Linked DNA regions of Homo sapiens: region 2 is linked to region 1. Evidence: promoter capture Hi-C in 16 types of primary human blood cells and fetal thymus (Javierre and others, 2016). All regions are on one chromosome and are shown on one strand. Each heading gives the region's core, a stretch centred on a gene start or on the middle of the fragment in contact. The rest is flanking DNA. Distances are from core to core; before and after follow the strand shown.

Region 1 (5,663 bases), core at 3,164-5,663:
GTGCGATCTCGGCTCACTGCAACCTCCGCCTCTCAGTTTCAAGTGATCCTCCTGTCTCAACCTCCCAAGTAGTAGGATTACAGGTATGTACCACCATACCCAGCTAATTTTTGTATTTTTAGTAGAGATGAGGTTTCCCTGTTGGACAAGCTGGGCTCGAACTTCTGACCTCAAATGATCTGCCTGCCTCGGCCTCCCAAAGTGCTGGGATTACAGGTGCGAGTTACCACGCCCGGCCGGGAAGGCCTCTTTGAAGGGGTGACATTGGAGTGGACACCTGAGTGAAGAGTGGGAGCCAGCCAGGAAGATATCTATGAAAAGCATATTCTTTTTTTTTTTTTTAAGAGACAAGGTCTCTGTCACCCAGGCTAGAATACAGTGGCACGATCATGGCTCACTGCAGTCTCAAACTCCTAGACTCAAGCCATCCTCCCCTCTCAGCCTCCCAAGTAGCATGCCACTACTCCCAGATAATTTTTTTTTTTTTTTGAGATGGAGTCTCGCTCTGTTGCCCAGGCTGGAGTGCAGTGGTGCAACTTTGGCTCACTGCAACCTCCGCCTCCCGGGTTCAAGCAATTCTCTGCTTCAGCCTCCCGAGTAGCTGGGGTTACAGGTGTGCACCACCAAGCCTGGCTAATTTTTGTGTTTTTGGTAGAGATGGGGTTTCATCATGTTGGCCAGGCTGGTCTTGAACTCCTGACCTTGTGATCCACCCACCTCAACCTCCCAAAGTGCTGGGATTCCAAGTGTGAGCCACGGAGCCTGGCCAGAAAAGCACATTCTATCCAAAGCAAACAGCAAGTGCAGATGCCCTGAGGTGGGAGCAAGCTCTGCGGGTTTGAGGAACCCAGAGGAGGTGGGGGTGGCTACAGCAGAGTGAGCAAGAGGTGAGGGGTGGGAGATGAGGCTGGAGAGGTAACAGGGCACAGCTCGTGGGCCAATATAAGGACTCTGGATTATGGCTGGAATGAGGCGGGAGCCCTGGGAGGGTTTGGGGGAGAGGAAAGAGAATCTGACATCTAGAAGGTAAAAAGATCCCTGTGATGACCAGGCGCGGTGGCTCACGCCTGTAATCCCAGCACTTTGAGAGGCCGAGGTGGGCAGATCACCTGAGGTTGGGAGGAGAATTGCTTGAACCCAGTAGGCAGAGGTTGCGGGGAGCCAAGATCTCGCCATGTGCACTCCATCCTGGGGAACAAGAGCGAAACTCCGTCTCAAAAAAAAAAAAAAGATCCCTGTGGCTCTGTGCGTGGAGTAGAGTGGGAAGACGAGAGGGATGACAAATGTCCAGGCAAGGGAGGGTGGGGGCTTGGGAAAAGGTGGAGGTAGCCCACTACCCTCCCCGACTCCTGCTCCTCACCTGTTTTTTGGCCCTGCTCAGCTCCAGGTCAAGTGCTTGGGCCAGCTCCAGCAGCAGGGCACAGGGCACAGCCGAATCCGTGGCCCCTACAAAGGGGGTCGATCCGGGTGGGAAGAGCTTCGAGTCATAATGGCAGGCAAGGGTGAGGTGACGGGCAGCCCTTGGGTCCAGTGTGGCCACCACATTGCCAAAGTCCACTGGCCCCAGGGGTGTTGAGGCTGTGAAGGGATCCAGCTCCACGTGCCAACCTGCTGTCAGGGACCGCAGCGTGGCCTCCAGGAACTAGCGGCAAGAGAGAGGTGGGAGGGTGGACGGGGACTGGGGAGGAGGTGGGGAGAAGGGCCACGTGACCTGAGCCATGCAGAGCAGATGGGTTGACACTAAAGCCCCACTCTGATTGAATGGATTTCTTTCTTTCTTTCTTTTTTTTTTTGAGATGGAGTCTTGCTCTGTCACCCAGGCTGGAGTGCAGTGGCTTGATCTTGGCTCACTGCAACCTCTGCCTCCTGGCTTCAAGTGATTCTCCTGACTCAGCCTCCTGAGTAGCTGGGGTTACAGGCGCCCCCTACAACGCCTGGCTATTTTTTGTATTTTTAGTAGAGATGGGGTTTCACAATGTTGGCCAGCCTGGTATTCGAACTCCTGACCTCAAGTGATCTGCCTGCTTCAGCATCCCAAAGTGTTGGGATTACAGATGTGAGCCACTGTGCCCAGCCCCCTACTCTGATTAAAATCATTCCCTTGACAGTGCTGGTGAGTACCTACTGGGTGCCAGATGTTGGGGAGACCCCACCTCTTGAAGCCAGCAAGACTCATCACAGCTTACCCTTAAATAGCTCTCACTGTGTGCTAAGCCCTCTTCTAGGAACCATTTAGGGGAGGGACTGCCAATACATGACCCCATTTTACAGATGAGGAAATGGGCTCAGAGAGGTTAAGAAACTAGTCCAGGCCGGGCGCGGTGGCTCACGCCTGTAATCCCAGCACTTTGGGAGGCTGAGGTGGGCGGATCATAAGGTCAGGAGTTTGAGACCAGCCTGGCCAATATGGTGAAACCCCGTCTCACTAAAAATACAAAAAATTAGCCAGGCATGGTGGTGCACACCTGTAATCCCAGCTACTCAGGAGGCTGAAGCATGAGATTTGCTTGAACCTGGGAGGTGGAGGTTGCAGTGAGCCGAGATCGCGCCACTGCACTCCAACCCAGGCGACAGTGTGAGACTCCATCTCAAAATAAAATAAAATAAAATAAAATAAAAAAGAAACCAGTCCAAGGTCACAATCTAAGTGGATGAGGTAGCATTGGGACTCAGGCAGTATTTAAGTGACTTTTTTTTTTTGAGATGGAGTCTCGCTCTGTCACCCATGCTGGGGTGCAGTGGCGCAATCTCAGCTCACTGCAGTCTCCGCCTCCTGGGTTCAAGTGATTCTCGTGCCTCAGCCTCCCAAGTAGCTGGGACTACGGGTACCCACCACCACGCCTGGCTAATTTTGTATTTTTAGTAGAGATGAGGTTTCACCATGTTGGCCAGGCTGGTCTCAAACTCCTGATCTCGAGGGATCTGCCTGTCTCGGCCTCCCAAAGTGCTGGGATTAGAGGTGTGAACCACTGCGCCTGGCCTTTAAATGACTCTTCATGCTTTCTGGAAGACAACAGATACATTACAGCACCAGCTCGGAGCCAACCTGTTTGGGTTCAACTCTAGGTCTATGATTTTCTAAACATTGGGTCTCACTAGGTTGACTAGGCTAGTCTCAAACTTCTCAGGTGATTCTTCCACCTTGGCTTCCCAAAGTGCTGGGATTACAGGCATGAGCCACTGCACCCGGCTAAGGTCTACTACTTATTATCTGTAGGATTTGTGCAATGTGTATAACCTCTCTGAGCCTCAGTTTCCCCATCTGCATAATGAAGATCATATTGGTACCCACCTTATAGGGCTGTCTGTTGCCTATGCCTAGCACACAGTAAGCTTTTGGTGGGGGCATTAAGGGGGGCAGTACAGCCTGGTGGTTTGTTACCAGCATGGAGTCTAGAGTCCGATTAACTCCAGTCAGAGCCCCAGTTCCTCCTCTTAGCTTCTTTGGGATCTTGAACAGGATTCTTATTTCCCATTCCCTGGAGGGCTAGGGGGTCAGGGACTGGAGGTGGGTCCCTTTACCTTTCTGACTTGGAGATTTCCCGGGCTGCCCGGGGTTCGCACAACCAGCAGGGGGCGCAGATAAGTGCTCCAGAGACGCTGTGGATCCAGTTGTCCCACCACCCTCCGCAGCCGGGCTTCGGGGAGGCTTCCGATCAATGGGACCTTGGGAAGGAGGTGGGATAGGGAAGGGAAGAATGAGAGCAACCCCCCCATTTCAACCCTACCCCGGGCGCCGTCACCCGCGAGGAGCCCCGGGTTCTCTTCCTAATCTGCCGCCTCCAGCATCGGAGACTTCTAGGATAAATCCAAGGCTCAGGAAAAGTCCTTCCAAGACCATCCGGTCCAGCCTACCTCAAACTTGATGGGGAAATCGAGGCCCAGTGAGAGAGAGGGGAGATGGAGGAAGGGACTCTTCCAAATAGTTGACTAAAGGCGTAGAACCCTGAACCCCCCCGTCTTACTATTTCAGACCTTTCCTCTTAAAAGGAAGCTACTGTTGCAGAACCAGCCCGAAGCCTTATTCCTTTGGTAAGGGTCATGCGCTCAGATGACGAAGACGGTGGCATCTGCGGTTAGGGCCGTACGCTAAAGCCACGTCAACCCTGGGTAACAGCGGGGAGGGAATGAGGGTCCCCGCGGTGCCCGGGTCCCCGCCCAGCCTCACCCGCAGCTCCCGGCCCAGCGGCAGCTCCTCAGTCCTGCGGTGCCAGCCGCTCCAAATGGTGTAGAACGCCGAGCCCACGGCCAGCGCCAGCAACAGAGGCAAGAGCCGAACCCGCGGTAGCAGGCGGCGCTTCGGCGGCAAGAGTGGCTCCATGAGGCCACGTTCCCCCAGCCGCAGGCGGGGTCGCCCGCGGCCCCCGGAACGCATGGCCGCTTTGCCCTGAAACCTGTACCAGACCACGGATTGAGTTTAGGCCCAGCCAAGTTCCTCCCCATGGAATCGGTGGGCCAATAAGCAACAGCTGCGGCTGCACCAGCCCACCCCACAGCGAGCAGCGAAACCAATAAGAACTACGGTCCTGAGGACACGCCTCCCAGCCTCCCTTAGGTATTGGGGTTGGTTCCCCTGAGAATGGCACGACCCAAATGGGAGCGCAAGAGAAGTAGGCTCCGCCTTAGCGGAGGAGGGAAAGCCAATGAACAGCGTTTGATCATGGAAAATATTCGATCTCCCGGGCGCAGGTCCATGCCCCTTCCGGATGTAGGCAGGGGATTGGTGGCGCAGGGTCGGAAAGATCAGTAGATACGTCAGTAACGCGTCCCAGAGGGAAGAGGGGCGGTGCCTGTCTCCGAAGCGAGGAGCGGATTGGCTTCACGGAGGCCGCGCCCCCGAAGTCACGGCCGGCGGGCATTTGGAAATAGCTTGTCATTTCCCTCCTTCAACCTGTACCATTCTTCAAGAAACGGTTTGAATCAGACTGCCTTTCCTTTTGTCTTCATTGTCATAAACATCTGCCCCCGTGTGGTTCTGACTGGCCGCGAACCCCTACCCGAAGCTTTTATTCCATCATTGTGCACCGTTGGTGGGGAATGCTGTGGCAACAGGCCACGCCTCCACTTACTGGTTGGCTTTGCGCAGGCGCCAACGGAAGTGGGTCGCAGGAAGAGGAAGTCCCGCCTCTCTCTCCTCAGGCAGCAGCAACGCGGAGGAAACGGGAGTGAACGGAGAGCGTAGTGACCATCATGTGAGGCCGGGCTAGGCTTAGGCGGCGGGAATGAGGTTGAGGGTGGATATTTGACCGATTGAGTGTGGGAAGGGTTGAGCAGAGCGGGGGGGGCAGGGGCAGATGTTTTAGGGATGCAGCGTCCTGCTTTTCTCCTGATGAGTTTGAGAACGGGCGTGGGGCCTTTGACGCATCGTGACTTCGGGAGAGGGGACAGCTTTATCAGATAACGCCCTGGGCTGGGCGCGGGGGCTCATTCCTGTGATCCCAGCACTTTAGTAGGCCAAGGCGGAGCATCGCTGGAACACAGGAGTTCGAGACTAGCCTAGGCAACATAGCGAGACCCCCGTCTCTACAAAAAAAAAAAAAAATTTAATTATGAAAAACATGTTTTAAACGATAACGGGAGTGGTCCTAGATAATTAGTCCTATTGAAATGAATGTTAAGGGGCAGCGATTTTACGAATACTGGGGGAGGCCGAGCGCGGTGGC
Region 2 (6,334 bases), core at 2,015-4,514, 650 kb after region 1:
ATATCTTAGGGATGGCACCCAAGTCCAAAGACCAAATTCATTTATACTTTATAAGCACAGCCTGAAGGTAATTGTATACAATATTTTAAATAATTTTGTGCATGAAACAAAGTTTGTGTAAAGTACTTATATGTGAAACTTTCCACTTATAGTGGGGCATCATGTCAGTATGCAGAAAGTTTCAGATTTTGGAGCTAGCCGGGCGTGGTGGCTCACGCCTGTAATCCCAGCACTTTGGGAGGCCGAGGCAAGCAAATCACTTGAGGTCGGGAGTTCAAGACTAGCCTGACCAACATGGTGAAACCCTGTCTCTACCAAAAGTGCAAAAATTAGCCAGGCATAGTGGCACATGCCTGTAATTCCAGCTACTCAGGAGGTTGAGTGAGGCAGGAGAATAGCTTGAACCTGGGGGGTGGACGTTACAGTGAGCTGACATCATGCCACTGCACTCCAGCCTGGGCGACTAAGCAAGACTCTGCCTCAAAAAAAAAAAAAGATTTTGGAGCATTTCGGATTTTGAATTAGGGATGTTCAACCTGTGTATGCGTATGTGTGTGCGTGTGTGTATACATACATACACACACATATATATATATATATAAATTTTTTTTTTGAGATGGAGTCTCACTCTGTTGCCCAGGCTGGAGAGCAATGCAACCTATGCCTCCCGGGTTCAAGCAATTCTCCTGCCTCAGCCTCCCGAGTAGCTGGGATTACCATTTACTCCTGTATTACTGCCCCAGCCTCTTCCCTGGTCTGCTGGCCTCCAGTCCTGGCTCCTCCAGTCTGTCCTCCCTAGAAGAGTCCAGGAGGCCTTTCTAAAGCACAAAACTGACCCTGTCCCTTCATTGCTCAGAGCACCTCTATGGCTCCTAAGTGCCCTTGAGAGAAAGCCCAGGCTCCTCACCACCTCCAGCTAATTTCTGTATTTTTAGTAGAGACGAGGTTTCATCATGTTAGCCAGGCTGGTCTCAAACTCTTGACCTGAGGTGATCCACCTGCCTTGGCCCCCAAAATGCTGGGATTACAGGCGTGAGCCACCACACCAGGCCCATGTATGTGTATCTTAAGTGTGTTAAATTCCACAAAGGGGAAGGAAAGGGAGCTATGATTATGGCATTTTTAGAGGACACCTGACTGAGCTTGGGAAACAAGACTTCTCTGAGGACTGAGATCTGACAGATAAGCAGTAGTTAACCAGGTATGGGAAGAGCTCATACAAAGGTCCTGTGGCTGGGGAGCGCTTGGGTCAGTGGAGGAATAGCAAGGAGGCCAAAATGACTTGTGCAAAGGAACAAGGCAGAGTGTGGGGTGGTGTGAGTCTGGAGGAAGGGCAAAGGCCAGGCCATGCAGGACCCTAAAGGCCACAGTGAGGAGCCTGGGCTTTCTCTCAAGGGCACTTAGGAGGCATAGAGGTGCTCTGAGCAACGAAGGGACAGGGTCAGTTTTGTGCTTTAGAAAGGCCTCTTGGACTCTTCTAGGAAGGACAGACTGGAGGAGCCAGGACTGGAGGCCAGCAGACCAGGGAGGAGGCTGGGGCAGTAATACAGGAATAACTGGGAAAGGTCTATATAAATGTCATCTGACAGGAACACTGAACCTAGAAAACAGGTGCCATTTCAAGCTGGGATCCCAAGGATACACAGGAGTTAAATAGGTGAGGGGGGGTAATATAGGCCAAAGCCCTGTGGTGGCAGAAATAGAAGGCCAGTGGAGCTGTCCGAGTATGAAGCTGAGTGGTCAGACCACAAGGGTCTTTTAGGCCAGGGATAGTTTGGTCTTCCCCGCAAAAACAACTGAAGCATCAGACAGGAGAGGGAAGTGGTCAGGTTTCACTTAATATTCACTCCTTTTTTTTTGAGACAGTCTTTTTTTTTTTTTTTTTGAGACAGAGTCTCGCTGTCGCCCAGGCTGGAGTGCAATGGTGCTATCTCAGCTCACTGCAGGCTCCGCTCTGCCCCCCTCCCCGGTTCACACCATTCTCCTGCCTCAGCCTCCCGAGTAGCTGGGACTACAGGCACCCGCCACCTCACCTGGCTAATTTTTTGTATTTTAATAGAGATGGGGTTTCACCGTGTTAGCCAGGACGGTCTCGATCTCTTGACCTTGTGATCTGTCCACCTCGGCCTCCCAAAGTGCTGGGATTACAGGCGTTGAGTCTTGCTCTGTCACCCAGGCTGGAGTTCAGTGGCACAATCTCCATGCACTACAGCCTCCTCCTCCCGGGCTCAAGCAATTCTCGTGCGTCAGCCTCCCAAGTAGCTGGGACTACATGCACACACCACTAAGCCTGGCTAATTTTTGTATCTTTAGTAGAGATGGGGTTTCACCCTTTTGGCCAGGCTGGTCTCGAACTCGTGACCTCAGGTGATCCACTTGGGATTACAGGCGTGAGCCACTGTGCCAGGCCAACTTAATACTCACTCCTATTGTGTGCCAAGCCAAATCTCAAGAGTGGCTGAGCTCTTCTGGGAATGGGGAACACAGCAATAAGCGAAACAGACATTCTGGAGGTGGCCAGTCTAACGTCAGGACTGCTCTGAGGGTTACAGAGACTTCCCTTTTTCTTGCTAACACCGGATCGGCACTGGGAGGCCACACCAAACGACACAGTATGCTACAACAAACAGAAGCCCTTGGGATCCCACCAATGATTATCCTCAAGAAAAGATTAATGAATATACTCCTGAGGAAATGAGCCTCTTGTCTTGACATACTTCCAAGCCCAGATTTTACCAGGATGACCAGCTGTGCCCCCCAACCCAGGGTCCCTCACCCCAGACAAAAGGCCAGTTACTCACGATCTTTTCATAATACTCCCGTCTCCGCTCCGCCCTCTTCTTGTAGTCGACCATCATGCCTCGAAGCTTCCGCTCATGCTTCCGAGCCTCGTGCCACATTGTGGTGAGGCCAAGCCTGGGGCCTCAACCTGAGGGATGAAGGGACCAGGAAAGTCAGATGGTCTGTGAAACCCGTATGGGCAGAATCAAAGTCATCTAACAAGTTGGTGGCAGAGTCGATCCCAAACAACACATCTCTTAGCTTCAGGGAGCAGAAGTGAAGCTGCAGAACAGTATGCCAGATGTTCAAGTCCATCCCTAACAACTTCGATCTAGAAGCTTGGGCATTCTGAAAAACCCTCAGGTGATTCTGAGGTGAGCATCACTGGGAAAGGGGTGTCCTAGATTCCACGCGCTGGAGTCGGGAATGAAAGGTTTTGAAACATCAGCAGTGTTTGAAGTAGGGTCAGAAGGCAAACCCTGAGCACTTAAGGCTGGAGCTCAAGAGAAAGAGAAGAACTGAAAAGGCTCCCACTAGGGGCCATGCGTGGGGTTGGGTATGAGTCTGGGTGGTAGAGGGATAAGGAGAATAAGGATGAAGGCAGGTGGAGGAAATCGGAGAAAGCTTTTAAGGGAACAGTGCAGTTGTATGAAGGTGGAGGTCGAGGACAGGTGAAGGGCGTGGCGGAAGATGAAGATGCTAGAGGGAGTGGGAACACGGGGAGGGAGTGTTGCAAGGAGACCAGAGTGAAGCTGAGGTCTAAAGATGGGATCTAGATGGCGGGGTGGGGAGAGCATCCAAAGAAAAAGAGCGTAGAGCCTGAGAGAGGCGGAGCTGGCTGACAGGAGGGCGTGGGCTGAGCTTGGGGGCAGGGCTTGCGGGAAAGGGCGGAGACCGAAGGTTTGGACGGGGCTTGTGGATCGCGTCGCGGCCTGAGGATTTGGGCTGGGTTTTTTTTTTGTTGTTTTTTTTTTTGACAAGGGGGCGGGGCCTGTGATAAGCTGCTGGGCCGAAGGCCGAGTTCGACGCGGCAACTTCTGGCCCACAGCCGGGGCACGGGCTCGGCCTGAGGCCCGTCAGGCCTAATGGGGTGAGGGACGAGCGATCCTCGGGGCCGGGACGCAGCAGAAGCCCACAGCAGCATGGGGAGAGCCTGAGGAAAGGGAGAAGCTGGGCTGAGGCCTGCCCGAAAACCGGGAGGTCGAGCCGCAGCCTGCACTCACCGGCTGGTCGCCGCCTCCCACCGCTGCGCTCGCGCGCGGCCCGCACCGGAAGCGGAAATGAAAGGCCGCGCTAGGGGGAGGGGGCGGAGCATGGTGGAGGGCCGCGCAGCGCACTTCCGCCGACGAGAGAGGCGGGTCCTAGAGTCGAGAGGGGCGGGATCCCGAGGAAGAAGTGGGAGAGCGGAGAAGGGAAGAGCTTGGATGCTTTATCTTTTTATCTTTTTTATTTTATTTATTTATTTAATTTTATTTTTTTGAGACGGAGTCTCTCTTTGTCTCCCAGGCTAGAAGGCAGTGGCGCGATCTAGGCTCACTGCAACCTTTGCCTCCTGGGTTTCAGCTATTCTCCCACCTCAGCCTCCCGAGTAGCTGGGACTACAAGCGCGCGCCACCAAGCCCGGCTAATTTTTGTATTTTTAGTAGAGATGGGGTTTCACCATTTTGGTTAGGCTGGTCTCAAACTCCTGACCTCAGGTGATCCACCTGCCTCGGCCTCCCAAAGTGCTGGGATTACAGCCATGAGCCACCATGCCCGGTCTCATTTTTTATTTTCATTTTCATTTTTTATTTTTTTGAGACACAGCCTCGCGCTGTCGCCCAAGCTGGAGTGCAGTGGTGCGGTCTTGGCTCACTGCAACGTCCACCTCCTGGGCTCAAGCGATCCTCCCACCTCAGCCTCTAGAGTAGCTGGGATTACAGGCGCGCAGCACCACGCCCGGCTAATTTTTGTATTTTTTGTAGAGACTAGGTTTCGTCATGTTGCCCAGGCTGGTCTCAAACTCGTGAGCTCAAGCGATCCTCCTGCTTTGGCCTCCCAAAGTGCTGGGATGACAGGCCTGAGCCCCCAGCCTGGAGGCTTTCTTTGCTACTAAGGGACTAGGGCGTTTCCCAAGCCCAGAACAGACGAAACCCCGGAGGCTCAAAAACTCATCTTTATTGGGAAGACTCTGAACAACCAACCTACCCCCCACCTTCAAGTCTGGGGAGGGAGGGCCAGGAATCTGCCCCCTCCTCCCATATGTACAATCTTTTCCGAATCCTACTGGAGAAGGTGCCCCCACATGTGGGGACAGAGGCAGCTGTAACAAGCTAGTGCACGGGAGCCATGTCCCTTTTCCTCTCCGGACTCAGTTTCCTCATCTGTAAAATGGGCTCAAGGGGAAACCCGTGCAACGGAGCTTCTCGCCAAGGCTGAATATGTCCACTTCAGAAGCATGAGGAAGGGCCAAGGGGATGGGGGTGCTAGACATCCTGGTTGGGATTGCACGGCTCCTCCACCTCCCTCCCCACCCAGTGCCCCTCCTCTGGCATCGCGGGGCTACGTGGCTTCAGGCCCCGGGGATAGGAGGCCGCCCCCAAAGGCCGCCTCGCGGTAATGATTGGGGAACATGTTGCTGCCCACAAGGCTGGCGGTGCCTCCATCCCCGGGGCCCGGGGCCTGGTACGAGTCCAGTGTCAGTGGTTCAGGGCCGGGGGTCTCCCCAACCACGGCCCCGGCACCTCCGCTGCACACAACAGCGCTAGCGTGTGGCGGTGCCGGGGGCAGCAGGTCCAGCATGGTGAAGAGTGTGGGGGCCGTAGGGTCGTAGGCAAAGCCATCGTCCAGGAGGTCAGGCCCGCCAGGGGGCTCCAGGCCGGGCAGGGACACGGTGCCAGAGAAGAAGTCAGGGTCTGGCAGCAGGGCTGACGGCGGGAGGAACGGGCCTACGGGGATGAAGACAAGAGAAGTGTAGTGTGATTTAGGGCTAACTTCTGATCAGGCCCTAAATCAAATGCCCTACTCCCTGCAAAATGTGATATCAAGGTGGCCTTTTTTTTTTTTTTTCTGAGATGGAGTCTCATTCTGTCACCCTGGCTGGAGTGCAATGACGTGCTCTTGGCTCACTGCAACCTCTGCCTCCCCAGTTCAAGTTGATTCCCCTGCCTCAGTCTCCTGAGTAGCTGGAACTACAGGCCAGGCATGTGCCATGCCCAGCTAATTCTTATCTTTTTAGTAGAGACGGGGTTTCACCATGTTTGCCAGGCTGGTCTCGAACTCCTGACCTCAGGTGATCCACCTGCTTCGGCCTCCCAAAGTGCTGGGATTACAGGTGTGAGCCACCAAGCCTGGCCTTAGGTGCCCTCTTAATCCCAAGGAGAATCCGTGTGGGACTATCACCATTCTCAGATAATAAGTAAATTGAAGGCCAAGCGTGGTGGTTCACACCTGTAATCCCAGCACAACGTGACGAGACCCTGTCTCTACAAAAAAATTATTTAAAAGTTAGCTGGGTGTGGTGGTGCCCGCCTGTAGTCCCAGCTACCTGGCAGTCTGAGGCAGGAGGATTGCT

Evidence for each region. Contacts are between HindIII fragments. The CHiCAGO score rates a contact against its expected background, and 5 or more counts as called.
Region 2: a contact is called between a fragment that was not itself captured here and the fragment with the promoter of QPCTL in region 1, in 1 of 17 cell types (total CD8 T cells). The highest score is 6.0, in total CD8 T cells.

Annotation. Positions count from the first base shown.
Region 1 is chr19:45,691,416-45,697,078 of GRCh38, reverse strand. It overlaps QPCTL (glutaminyl-peptide cyclotransferase like), which reads right to left and starts at 4,413. Exons shown (of 7, transcript NM_017659.4): 1 at 4,169-4,413; 2 at 3,523-3,666; 3 at 1,361-1,642. The coding sequence starts at 4,375. It overlaps SNRPD2 (small nuclear ribonucleoprotein D2 polypeptide), which reads left to right and starts at 5,126. Exons shown (of 3, transcript NM_001384647.1): 1 at 5,126-5,192. The coding sequence starts at 5,191. RefSeq lists enhancers at 3,706-4,256, 4,782-4,911, 4,922-5,051, 4,870-5,590. The HindIII fragment of the contact is 1,670 bases long and covers 3,336-5,005 here.
Region 2 is chr19:45,036,779-45,043,112 of GRCh38, reverse strand. It overlaps CLASRP (CLK4 associating serine/arginine rich protein), which reads right to left and starts at 4,068. Exons shown (of 21, transcript NM_007056.3): 1 at 4,005-4,068; 2 at 2,802-2,929. The coding sequence starts at 2,900. It overlaps RELB (RELB proto-oncogene, NF-kB subunit), which reads right to left. Exons shown (of 12, transcript NM_006509.4): 12 at 4,921-5,708. The coding sequence ends at 5,323. RefSeq lists an enhancer at 3,525-4,394. The HindIII fragment of the contact is 286 bases long and covers 3,122-3,407 here.